Linked DNA regions of Homo sapiens: all the other regions are linked to region 3. Evidence: promoter capture Hi-C in human tissues and cell types (Jung and others, 2019). All regions are on one chromosome and are shown on one strand. The core of a region is centred on a gene start or on the middle of the fragment in contact, and the rest is flanking DNA. Distances in the headings are between cores, read along the strand shown.

Evidence for each region. The method cuts DNA at HindIII sites, captures the fragments that hold promoters and counts their contacts. A contact is called where the count stands out against the background at its distance.
Region 1: a contact is called between a fragment that was not itself captured here and the fragment with the promoter of SEPHS1 in region 3, in 2 of the 25 tissues and cell types used here (IMR-90 fibroblasts and lymphoblastoid cells).
Region 2: a fragment that was not itself captured here is called in contact with the fragment with the promoter of SEPHS1 in region 3 in 1 of the 25 tissues and cell types used here (lymphoblastoid cells).
Region 4: a contact is called between a fragment that was not itself captured here and the fragment with the promoter of SEPHS1 in region 3, in 1 of the 25 tissues and cell types used here (thymus).

What each region holds. Positions count from the first base shown.
Region 1 is chr10:13,605,663-13,608,362 of GRCh38, reverse strand. PRPF18 (pre-mRNA processing factor 18) reads right to left here. Exons shown (of 10, transcript NM_003675.4): 4 at 2,619-2,700. Among named protein-coding and RNA genes, the nearest start is that of PRPF18, 20 kb to the right of the region's middle. The HindIII fragment of the contact is 3,146 bases long and covers 1-2,700 here.
Region 2 is chr10:13,698,116-13,700,815 of GRCh38, reverse strand. The region is part of intron 14 of FRMD4A (FERM domain containing 4A); the gene reads left to right. Among named protein-coding and RNA genes, the nearest start is that of PRPF18, 110 kb to the right of the region's middle. RefSeq lists a silencer at 23-72. The HindIII fragment of the contact is 4,029 bases long and covers 1-2,700 here.
Region 3 is chr10:13,346,875-13,349,574 of GRCh38, reverse strand. SEPHS1 (selenophosphate synthetase 1) reads left to right here and starts at 1,282. Exons shown (of 9, transcript NM_012247.5): 1 at 1,282-1,575. RefSeq lists enhancers at 1-306, 307-1,097 and silencers at 1,167-1,386, 1,517-2,346. The HindIII fragment of the contact is 27,088 bases long and covers 1-2,700 here.
Region 4 is chr10:13,751,926-13,754,703 of GRCh38, reverse strand. All of the region lies in intron 8 of FRMD4A (FERM domain containing 4A), which reads left to right. Among named protein-coding and RNA genes, the nearest start is that of PRPF18, 170 kb to the right of the region's middle. The HindIII fragment of the contact is 4,931 bases long and covers 1-2,778 here.

The sequences.
Region 1 (2,700 bases), core at 101-2,600, 260 kb before region 3:
AGCCCCAGCTGTTCCTGCCATTCCAACTGAGACGCCAGGAAAGGGGCAAGATATCAGCTTAGAAGACCAGTCCAGAGGCAGCCTCACATGATTTCGGCCGCAGCCTTCATCTGACTGCAATCACAATAAAGACCCCAAGCAAGATACTGCTCAATCCAGCCCAATAAAACCACAGAACTGGTAATTATTAAGACAATAACAAATTATCTTAAGCTATCAAGTTTCAGGGTGGCTTGTTAATCACCAAAAACAGATTTGGTAATGATAAATCCTTTATAATAAATAAACAAACACTAGTAAGTTTTGGAGTAGTCTGTTACATAGTCATAGGTAACCACACCTGTCTCTCAATAATTGAGAAAGCAAGTAGATAAAAAGTTAGCAAGGCCAAAGAAGATCTGAACAACACTATCATCACTGACATTTGTAGAACTGTACCATGAAAGCAAAACAATACTCTTTTCAAGAGCCCATGGAATAAACCATATGCTAAGCCATAAAACAAGATCAGAGCCTTAAATGTAAAGCAAAAACTATAATATTAAGCTTCTAGAAGAAAATTAAGAATATATATTTGAAATCTTGGGATAGGCAAAGATTTCTTAAGCAGGACACAAAAAGCAATGACCATAAAAGGAAAAAACAATAAATTGGACTTCATTAAAATATAAAACTTCTGGCCCGGGCACTTCGGGAGGCCAAGGCGGGAGGATCCCTTGAGTAGAGGAGTTCAAGATCAGCCTGGGCAACATGAGGAGGCCTCATCTCTACAAAAATTAAAAAATCAGCCAGGCATGGTGGCACACACCTGTGGTCTCAGCTACTTGGAAGGCTGAGGTGGGAGATCGCTTAAGCCCAGGAGCTAGAGGTTGCAGTTAGCCATGATCATGCTGAACTCCAGCCTGGGTGAGAGTGAGACCCTGTCTCAAAAAGCGTGTGTGTACACACACACAAACTTCTGTTCAGCAAAAGATTCAATTAAGAGAACAGGTAAGCCCTAAACTACAAGAAAATAGTCACAAAAAATATTCGTATATCTGACAAAGAACTTCTATCCAGAATATACAAAGAATTCCTATAATCCATTTACAAAAAGACAAGTTTATTTTTAAAATGAACAAAAAGCGCCTGTAATCCCAGCTACTTGAGAGGCTGAGGTGGGAGGACTGCTTAAGCCCAGGAGGTTGCAGCTGCCATGAGCCATGATTATGCCACCGCATTCCAGCGTAGGTGACGGAGTGAGACTCTGTGTCAAAAAAATAAATAAATAAGGAAAGAAAGACTTTAACAGACACTACACAAATGAACACAACTTTATGAAAAGATGCTCCTCATCTTTAGTCATCAGGTAATGTGATTAAAGCCGCAAAGAGCTACTACCAGACACAAAAGAGAATGGTTAAAATTAAAAAGACTAACAATACCACATGCTGGGGTTTGGAAATGACTGGCATTTCTTATGAAGTTAAGCATACATCTACTCTTATTATCCAGCAATTCTACTTCTAGGTATCTCCCCAAGAGACCTATTTATTTACCCAAGAAAAATAACATAGTTCCAAAAAAAGATCTGCATAAGAATGGTCATAGCAGTTTTATCCCTGTTTTTTTTTTTTTTTTTTTTTTTTTGAGAAGGAGTCTCACTCTGTCGCCAGGCTGGAGTGCAGTGGCACAATCTCAGCTCACTGCAACCTCCACCTCCCGGATTCAAGTGATTCTCTTGCCTCAGCCTCCCAAGTAGCTGGGAATACAGGCACACGCCACTACGCCCAGCTAATTTTTGTATTTTTAGTAGAGACGGGGTTTCACCATGTTGGCCAGGATGGTCTCGATCTCTTCACCTTGTGATCCACCTGCCTCAGCCTCCCAAAGTGCTGGGATTACAGGCTTGTGCCACCACGCCCAGCCAGCAGTTTTATTCCTAATAGCCCAAAGCTGGAAACAAATTTTGATATATTCATACAACTGAGTATCACTGGAAAATGAAAAGGAAACCAGTGGTATCTGCAATAACATGGATGAACCTAAAAACTGATATGCTGAGCGAAAGAAGCCAGACACACAATCTATGAGTCCATCTGTATGAAATACAAGAACAAGCAAAATTAATCCATGATGACAAAATTCAAATGGTGGCTGCCCAGGAAGGGATGAGGAGAAATATGAGGATAGGCTGAGAAGGGGTACTGGGGAAATTTCCTTTTTCTCTTTTTTTTCAACTTTTAAGTTCAGGGATACAGCTGCAGGATGACAGGTTTGTTACATAGGGAAACGTGTGTCGTGGTGGTTTACTTCACAGATCATCCCATCACCCAGCTATTGAGCCCAGCATCCATTCGCTATTCTTCCTGATGCTCTCAGGGAAATTTCTTTGGTGACGAAAATGTTCTATTTCTTTATAAGGGCAATGGTTATATGCTTGTATGTATTTGTCAAAATGCATTAAATGTTATACTTAAGATATGAGCTTTTCAAAAAATTAATGAAAACTTCCATTCAGCAGCAATAATCTGCTCACTTTACTTTTCCATTGTTGCCTACAATAATGCAATTAGTCAAACTCTATTCTAGTGAATGCAGTACAGTGGTATTTTTCTAGCTTTGTTCTGTCCTCTTACCTTGTTAACTTCTGGTGTGAGGATCTCTATTTTCCTTAAACGTTGAAAAGCATCATAATCAGTCTCTCCAAATAGTCTGATT
Region 2 (2,700 bases), core at 154-2,653, 350 kb before region 3:
TACCCTGTTTCCCTAAGGTAGACCTAGAGCCTGGGGCCTTGGTAAACAGACTTCCTCCAAGGAGATGTCACCACCCCTGACTCTGGGCACGCAGCTGCGTTTTCTGGTGGGTGAGAGGATGACGTCTCCTTGGTTCACACAGGGCTTATATCAACACTCTGCCCCCTCTTCCTCCAGCCCTGTCTCCCCAGACTCCCCTGTCAGCCCCCCACAAGCCACTCCCATTCATTCTCCCTCAGGGGAAGAGCCCTGCCAAGATGGCCCTGCAGCTTCTCTCAAGATCCTGCTGGCTTGGGCTGGGGGAATACAGACTGAGGTCACCCTGGGCCCCTGGGCTAGTGGTTTCTAGCACTTACGGAGGATTTCCCTCCATCGCGTGAGTTCTTGGGAGAAGGTGGCAAGATGCTCAACTTACTGGGCACAAGAGTCACTGAATCGGTGCCCTCTAGGGTTCTTTCTCTTTTGCCATCTTATCCATATTTTAAGGGGTTTCTCTTTTTCTGGGGAAGAGGAGAGTGAGCGAATTGGGGGTCAAGGGGGAGGTGATAAGAGAAAGAAAAGAGGACAGGGCTGGGCACAGTGGCTCACATCTGTAGTCTCAGCGCTTCGGGAGGCCAAGGCAGGAGGATCACTTGAGCTCAGGAATTCCAGACCAGCCTGGGCAACATAGTGAGACCCCCATCTCTACTAAAAGAAAAAAAAAAGAAGAAAAGAGGACAGGACGAAATGAAACAATCCCTTTAGTCATAATTCAGTTTTAAATTGGGGTCTGTCCCCCGCAGCCGTCATTTTATCCTTTGTAAAATATCTTGTCCTCTACTTTCTGACCCCCTTTTTGGTCATTTTCTGGGATGAATGAGCGCAGGACAGAGAATTTCTGTTGTTAGGAATAATGACAGTATTCTCCGCAGCTCTCCTGGCAGTGATGGGTCCTAGTCCTAGCGCAGGAATTTGAAGCTCGATTAGATCAAAAGAAATGGGGCCAAAGTGTTTTTGACTCATGCTCGATATTGACACAGTGGGTGGGTGTCAGGGTTTTGCTGTCCAGGGGCAACAGTTGGAGGTCGACACCTGAGAACGTTAATTTCACCCTCTGTGGTTGGGTGATGGATGGTGGGGGTTAGGGGATTGGGCAATGCTCCTGAACCCCACTGCCAGTTCCCCTTGACGGCAGACCCCCCACGCACTGTACCACAGTGTGGACAGAGGAAAAGGTGTATCTCGCCCTGAGGATAGCACAGCATTGGCTGTTCAAGCTCCTCCTCTCTGCGCCGGTTTTTGCATAGGCGGTCTCTTGAGCATTTCAAGAAACTTGTTCTTATGGCTTTCCTGCTGCACCCGGGAAGATGGGCTCATTCTGCAGTTGGCAAGCCTTGTTGTTGAACAGGCTAACAGGTCAACTCACTGACACAGCAAGTATATCTCAAAAGGAAATTATTGGCCGGCCGCCATGGCTCACGCCTGTAATCTCAGTACTTTGGGAAGCCGAGGAGAGCAGATCACTTGAGGTCAGGAGTTCGAGACCAGCCTGGCAAACATGGGGAAACCCAGTCTTTACTAAAAATACAAAAAAAAAAAAAAAAAAAAAAAACAATAACCAAGCATCGTGGCAGGCATCTGTAATCTCAGCTACTAGGGAGGCTGAGGGAGGAGAATTGCTTGAACCCAGGAGGCAGAGGTTGCAGTGAGCTGAGATCACACCACTGCACTCCAGCGTGGTTGACAGAGTGAGACTCCATCTCAGAAAAAAAAAAAAAAAAAGATTATTGTAGATAAATTAGCAACAAGACGTGTCTTTTAGGAGGTAAAACCAAATGCCCCATAGCATTAGGAATGTTTCAGCTGTCCCTTTTGTAAAAGTAACCCTTGGGGACTGAAGAAAATGCCCACGCTCCCAGAAGGAGAAGGAGAACATTTCCCAGGAAGCCTGGCATGCTCACAGATGTCCTAGAGCCCTCACACTTCTCACAGGAACCAGTTCCCCAGCCTGCAGTGACAGGTGAGGATCACAACCCTCTATGTGGGAATTGGAGGCCTCTGTTTTCCAGCTCTGGGACCCCGGGTGGGTCTTTCATCCTTGGTGTTTTGCTTTCCCCAATTAGCAGCAAAGGAAATTCCTGACCTCAATTAGTGATTGGTCAGATGGCACCACGTTTGTGAAATTGCTTGAGGAAATACGTGCCATCTTTTACTAATGTCATAGTTAATCTAGCATACTATCACTGGCCAACACTTGCATGAAGTTTAAATTCTCTAAAAGGCCCGCAAATTAAATCAGAGATGATGACGTACCCTTTGGGAATTACATTACAACACCTTTCTGTTTCTGGAATGTTCTTTATAGAACAGCGATGTGATTGATCTCTGATGGGCAGCACGGCCTCTGGGTGAGTGATGGCCGACAGGGCTGGGACAGAGAGCTTCATAACATTTCTAGGCAGCCAGTTCTGGCTGGTATCCTGGCCACTGCTCACACTCTACTGTACTGGGACATGCCAACCATTCCTTTCTCTGAAGAGCTTCAGCAAAGCCCAGGCCTCCCAAATGATGTTTATCAACCCTAGAGAGACAAGTGAGGTCTAGTGGTTCGAGTCAGCAAGGGTAGGGAGCCATGAGGGTTCAGGTGCTCCCCTGACACTCGGGTTTTTTCTTCTTTCAGGGTCACTGTGCAAATCATTTAAGGAAATCTCTCCTTCTTTC
Region 3 (2,700 bases), core at 33-2,532:
TCCGGGCTTGACTAGTACAATACCCTCTTAATGAGAACCGTGACCCTGTCTTCCCCTCTGGGAGAAGCCATCCTCCAGTGGCAGGCGCCTGTAATCCCAGCTACTGGGGAGGCTGAGGCAGGAGAATCACCTGAACCCAGGAGGCGGAGGTTGCAGTGAGCCGAGATCGCGCCACTGCACTCCAGCCTGGCGACAGAGTGGGACTCCGTCTCAAAATAAATAAATAAATAAATATAAAATAAAAGAATGCAGACTAACACGTTCTTTGCAAACTTACTACAGGGTATGAAGAAAGTACACAAAGACAGGAGCAGCCTGTCTTCGAGGTGGCATCACTTCTGCATCCAGCCCAGGATTAAAACCCGGAGCAACTGGCAAGCGGAAATGTTAACGAAAAGGGCATCTGCGTAGCGTGCCAACCTGCCGTGCCACGTAAAGCACGGTCCAGTGACCCAAAACATTTCTGCTCCCAAATAACATTTGGAAAATGCTGACCTACTGCCTAGAAAAGTTCGATCGGCATTCCTGCACACTGCTGTTTTAGAGAGAAGCCCTAAACGATATCTGAAAGTATTTGGTTTATTTTCATCAGCAATGCTTTAGAATCTCGAAAGCCCAGAAAAAAGTTATTTCACGACGTGAAGCTCCCCCCTCGATGTCAATTCGAACACATCCAGGGTTGCGGCTGCCATGTTCGCTCGAACATGTGCAGGACAAACAATGCAACCAGCGGGGAACCGTAAACCTTTTTCCTCGACTTCCTACCACGCACATGAAGTGTTCAAGAAACTTTGCAGGACGTCTCCACATTTCACGAGGCTCCCGTGAACTCCGGAGCCGAGCTAAACAATAGGAAGGACAGATGCTGGGAGTCCCCAAGCATCTAACGCGCCGTTTGTGTTTTCAAAAAACCTCTGCCTGGCGCCCAGGCGGCTTTTCCTGGGCTCCTAGCCTCCTGTGCAAATTGTTCCCATGGTCATTGTCTTCCAGGACGCTCCGCTGCGCACTCGGGGAGCGGGGACAGCGCCCCGCAGAGCGCCGCGCGGTCGAGCCCGGCCAGGTGGCGGAAACGTTCCCGGCCCTTGCAGCGGGGCCCGGGAAAAAGGTGGCCCGGGCGCCAAGGGCGGCTGCCAATGCAACTCGCAACTTTTGAAATCAATCCTTTTTTGCATCATGCAACGGATGCCACCGCTCCTCGGGTTTGCAACCCCCCACCCCTCCCCCGAGACCAATCATTGCCGCGCTCGGGGCTGCACGGCGCCCCCGCCCCCTTCCCGGGCCGCACGCCGCCACCCAGCAGCCAGGGCCGCCTCTTAAAGGGAGGTGGCCGGCCTTAAAGGACCCCCGCGCGCCCAGCCGGCGGGAGCGCGGCGGCCCGGCTCCCGCAGGGCCGCGCCGAGGCAGGCGAGCCCCCGCGGCGCCCAGGCGCGGGCCCGGGCCCCCGCCGCCGCCGCCGCCGCCGGGCGCGGCATTTTTATTCAGGCGACGCTTAAGGGAGCCCGGCCGCGCCCGGTGCATTGTGGGAGCGGCCCGCGGCCCGTTTTCGGGAGGAGGCGGAGGGCGCAAAGCGAGCCGGTAAGCGGCGGGCCCGGCGCGGGGGGGAGGCGCAGGCTTAAAGGGGAATCTGGGTCCGCAGGCCCGCGGCGGCCGTTGCAAATCCCCCTCCGGGCCGCCCGGGACCGCCGGGGAGCCGCGCGCCGCCGGCCCCGCCAGCCCTGCCTGGAGAGGGGCAGCGCCGGGCTTGGTGGGGCCGCTTTAAAAAAGAAGCGCCGCCCGCGCCGCCGCCGCCGCCGCGCGGGGCCGGGGAAGGAGGGAGGGAGGGCGGGGAGGAGCGGAGGGGAGGGCGGCGGCGGCCACGCAGGGGTTAATTTTTTCGCCCGCCGACATTTTTGCGCGGCGGCGGCGGCGGCCCGTGCGCGCGGCGGGAGCGGCCGGCCTGGGGTCGCGGGGTGCCTCCGGGGCCTCCCCGCCTCCCCTTTTCTCCGCGCGGGCCCTGTCGACCCGGGGCGGGTGCGTCCCGGCGTCCTCCCCGGCTCCTGGGCCGCACGCGCGGTGCCCGCCGGCTCCCGCCGCCTCCCGCCGGCCCGAACAGGGATGGCCCGGCCGGGGCCCCGAGCTGCCGCCTCCGCCCCGCCGCCGGCCCGCAGCCCGGGCCTGCTGGGCCTTCCGAGGCGGCGGCGAGGGCCTGAGCCTGAGCCTGAGCCCGAAGGTGTCCCCGGGTTCCTTGCTCCCCTCCCCGGCCGCCTCCGACGCGGGCGTCCTGGAGAGCGCGCCCCATTGTGCGGGGCCGGCGGGGAGGTAGGTCCGGGGTTGGCGGGGCAGCGCGCCGGGCCCACCCCGCTGACCGGCTCCCCGGCTCCCCACGCTCGTTGGAAGAAAAAAAAAAACCAAACCATGGAAATGTGCCCGGGAAGGAAAGGGCTAAACGTTGCTTTAAATATTCATGCCATTGTTTTAAAGGCGTAAACATGTGGCTGCGGGGTCGCCGGGCACCGTCCCTTATTAATGCAAATGGATCCCCCTGGTTCCCTAATCACTGCACATTTCCCCCAGAACCCCCTCCCCCTTCCCATGCCCTCCAAAAATGTAAGAATCTAGTACTTTTTTCATTAGGATGTGAGGCTGATTTGTGTCCTTAGTACCATTTGGAATTTTAAATCTGAGCGCCTTCCTGATACAAGGTGTTTTAAACTTTTTTCC
Region 4 (2,778 bases), core at 225-2,724, 400 kb before region 3:
TTGATCTGTTAAACTTGAAACACACCTAACAGCCCAAAGAAGAGTTTTTGTGGGAAGAATTGAAATTAATATAATTCTCATATACTATTTATATACTGTTTTACACACACACACACACACACACACACACACACACGAAAGAATTGTGTGTGGCGTTTTCCCATGATTTAAAAATGACTTTAAGGGCCATGAGTAATTGAAGAGCAGATGGAATCTTTCACACCAGCAAGAGCTTTTGAAAGGAACAGAATCTGTGAAAATTTGAAGCAAAATGTTCAAGTGGAAAAGTTATAAATTGTTACAGAAAGCTTTGTTTTGTGCACTAAAGTCTATTTGATGGAGCTTTCAAGTGTGTAATTCACATTTTCAAAGCATAAAAAAGTATTTGGATAGGGATAGGGTAGTTTTTTTTTTGCAGGATGATATTCTTCAAATTCTATGCGAATTGCTTAGAAGCCAAGTAAGGAGGAAATTTTGTATTATGACAGCTTACTTCTTTTGTTAGGCATTTATTTAACATATTAAAATATCATATTTTCAGTTATACCTGTGAACAGCAAAACGTTTCATGGCTATGGTACTGTGTCAGTTTTTCAGAGTGGAAATTCTGAAACTAAAGGGTGATACTGAGAAATATAGAAAGTTAATCGTTTCTTCTTGGGCTTTTTGAGAAAATTATTTGCCTGAAATTGTAGACTTATGAAACAATTTTTAAATTTGTCTTAAATTTTACATGTTTATACCTAACATAAATTAGAAATTCATAAAACTTCATTTCACCCCAGAAAACGAGACTCGGTAATCAAGGAAGAAATCCTTACTTATATAACTTAACAATTAGCAACAGAAATAAAGGCACTGCCAGACACTGTGGCTCACGCCTATAATCCCAGCACTTTGGGAGGCCAAGGCAGGAGGATTGCTTGAGCCCAGGAGTTCAAGATGAGCCTAGGCAACATAGTGAGACCTCATCTCTACAAAATATTTAAAAAATTAACCAGGTGCAGTGATAAGCACCTGTAGTCCCAGCTGCTTGGAGGCTAAGGCAGGTGGTTCACTTGAGCCTGGGAGGTGGAGGCTGCAGTGAGCCATGATCTCAAAACTGCGCTCTAGCCTGGGCAACAAAGCGAGACCCTGTCTCAAAAAAAAAAAAAAAAAAAAATAGAAAGGTACATATTTCATCAATGTGTTTGCAATGTTGCCCCCAACAAACAGTTGGTAAATTCATGTGATTTATCTATGATTCATGCCCAGAATTCAGAATCCCATGCTGGAAAAACCTCCTGGGGCCTCCAAGTGATTCCCTTTGTCTGTGAATGGTCACACACTATGGCAGGAAAAGTTTCTCAGACAGATGGGACCCAACCCAATGGTGGAAGACCCCTGCAACATTTCTTTCCTACACACCTGGGGAAAAAAGCATGTGATTGGGCGGAGATAGGCAGGTGCTCTCTTTTCTTTGTTGTAACCTCAGCTTCACCTTGGTTTACCAAAAAAAGGAGGAGGAAGAAAGGAAAGGGAAATTAAAGATTGTTTCCTGCATGATTTCTTAAAGATCAGCAAAGAATGAAAATCTATAACTTCCCTCATTAATCTGTCTCAGTTTTCTAGGTCCACTGTATGATCGAACAAAGGAACAGAGAGCCACGTATGTATATCTAGAACTTTAGGGTCTCAATGTTTACGAATTCAGAACTTGGCAGGATTTAGGCAGGTAATTCAGGGCTTGTACGACACCCTGGGCAGGGCCTAGGGCAGCACCTGGAATTAAACACATCAACACCTCCAGCCCAAAACATGGATATGCGCAGCAAGTGGGCGCAAATAGAAAGGTCCATCATTGCCTCATGCAAAAAGATGAAGTTTGCCGCCAGATGGGTTAAGAAATGTTTCTTAGACTCTAGCTTTTTGAATTTTGGAATTGTGATAATGGATGAAGGACCTGCAACACTCTACTTATGAAATATCCCGCCCCTGAGAACTTGACCTTCATGATTCTGCTCATAAAATATGGAGGAGTGAGGCCAATGCTAGCATTATATTACTGTTTCTGAATTGCAGGCTGTTCCTTTCTGTTACGATAGTATCACATTCTGGGTTTTGTGCTCTGCTGTTTTTGTACCAGTGCAGACAGAAACGACTGGTTTTAGCAAGAATTCTTTCACGCTAAGCCTATTCTGTTCGTCCCAAGTTTCTCCCACAAATTACATACATCTCATTTGACCCAGGGGGACTTTCTTGAAAAAGTTATTTCCAGGTTTTTTAAAGAAAAGCAAACACATTGTGGATTTTCCTCATCCTTCCCTCTCAGGTTTAATTTTTGCTCCCTTCACTTTGTGGCATCTTGGTTAAATCTGCTGTTCACTGTGGCAAATTCTCTATTTGATATATTGCTAGAAATCTTTGTTTTTCCCCAGTAGATCATTCTAACTTTCCTTGTTTCGTGAGGAGTATAGGCTGCAGAAGACAGGCACATCATCTCAAAGAAAAAAACACCACTAAATCGAAGACCAATACAGCATTGATACCACTTTTATCCTGGCAACGTTAATAACTGCCGGAGAGTTTTTAATAAAAACTGATTCATATTAAAGATAAGAAGACTTGGATGTTATTCTCAGTTTAGCAACTGGCTTTTCAAGAGAACTTTTTGCATTTTTCTTTTTCTTTTCTATTCTTTTGGTTTTTGAGACAGGGTCTCCCTCTGTTGCCCAGGCTGGAGAACAGTGGCATGGTCATAGCTCACTCTAATGTCAAACTCCTGGGCTCAAGCAATCC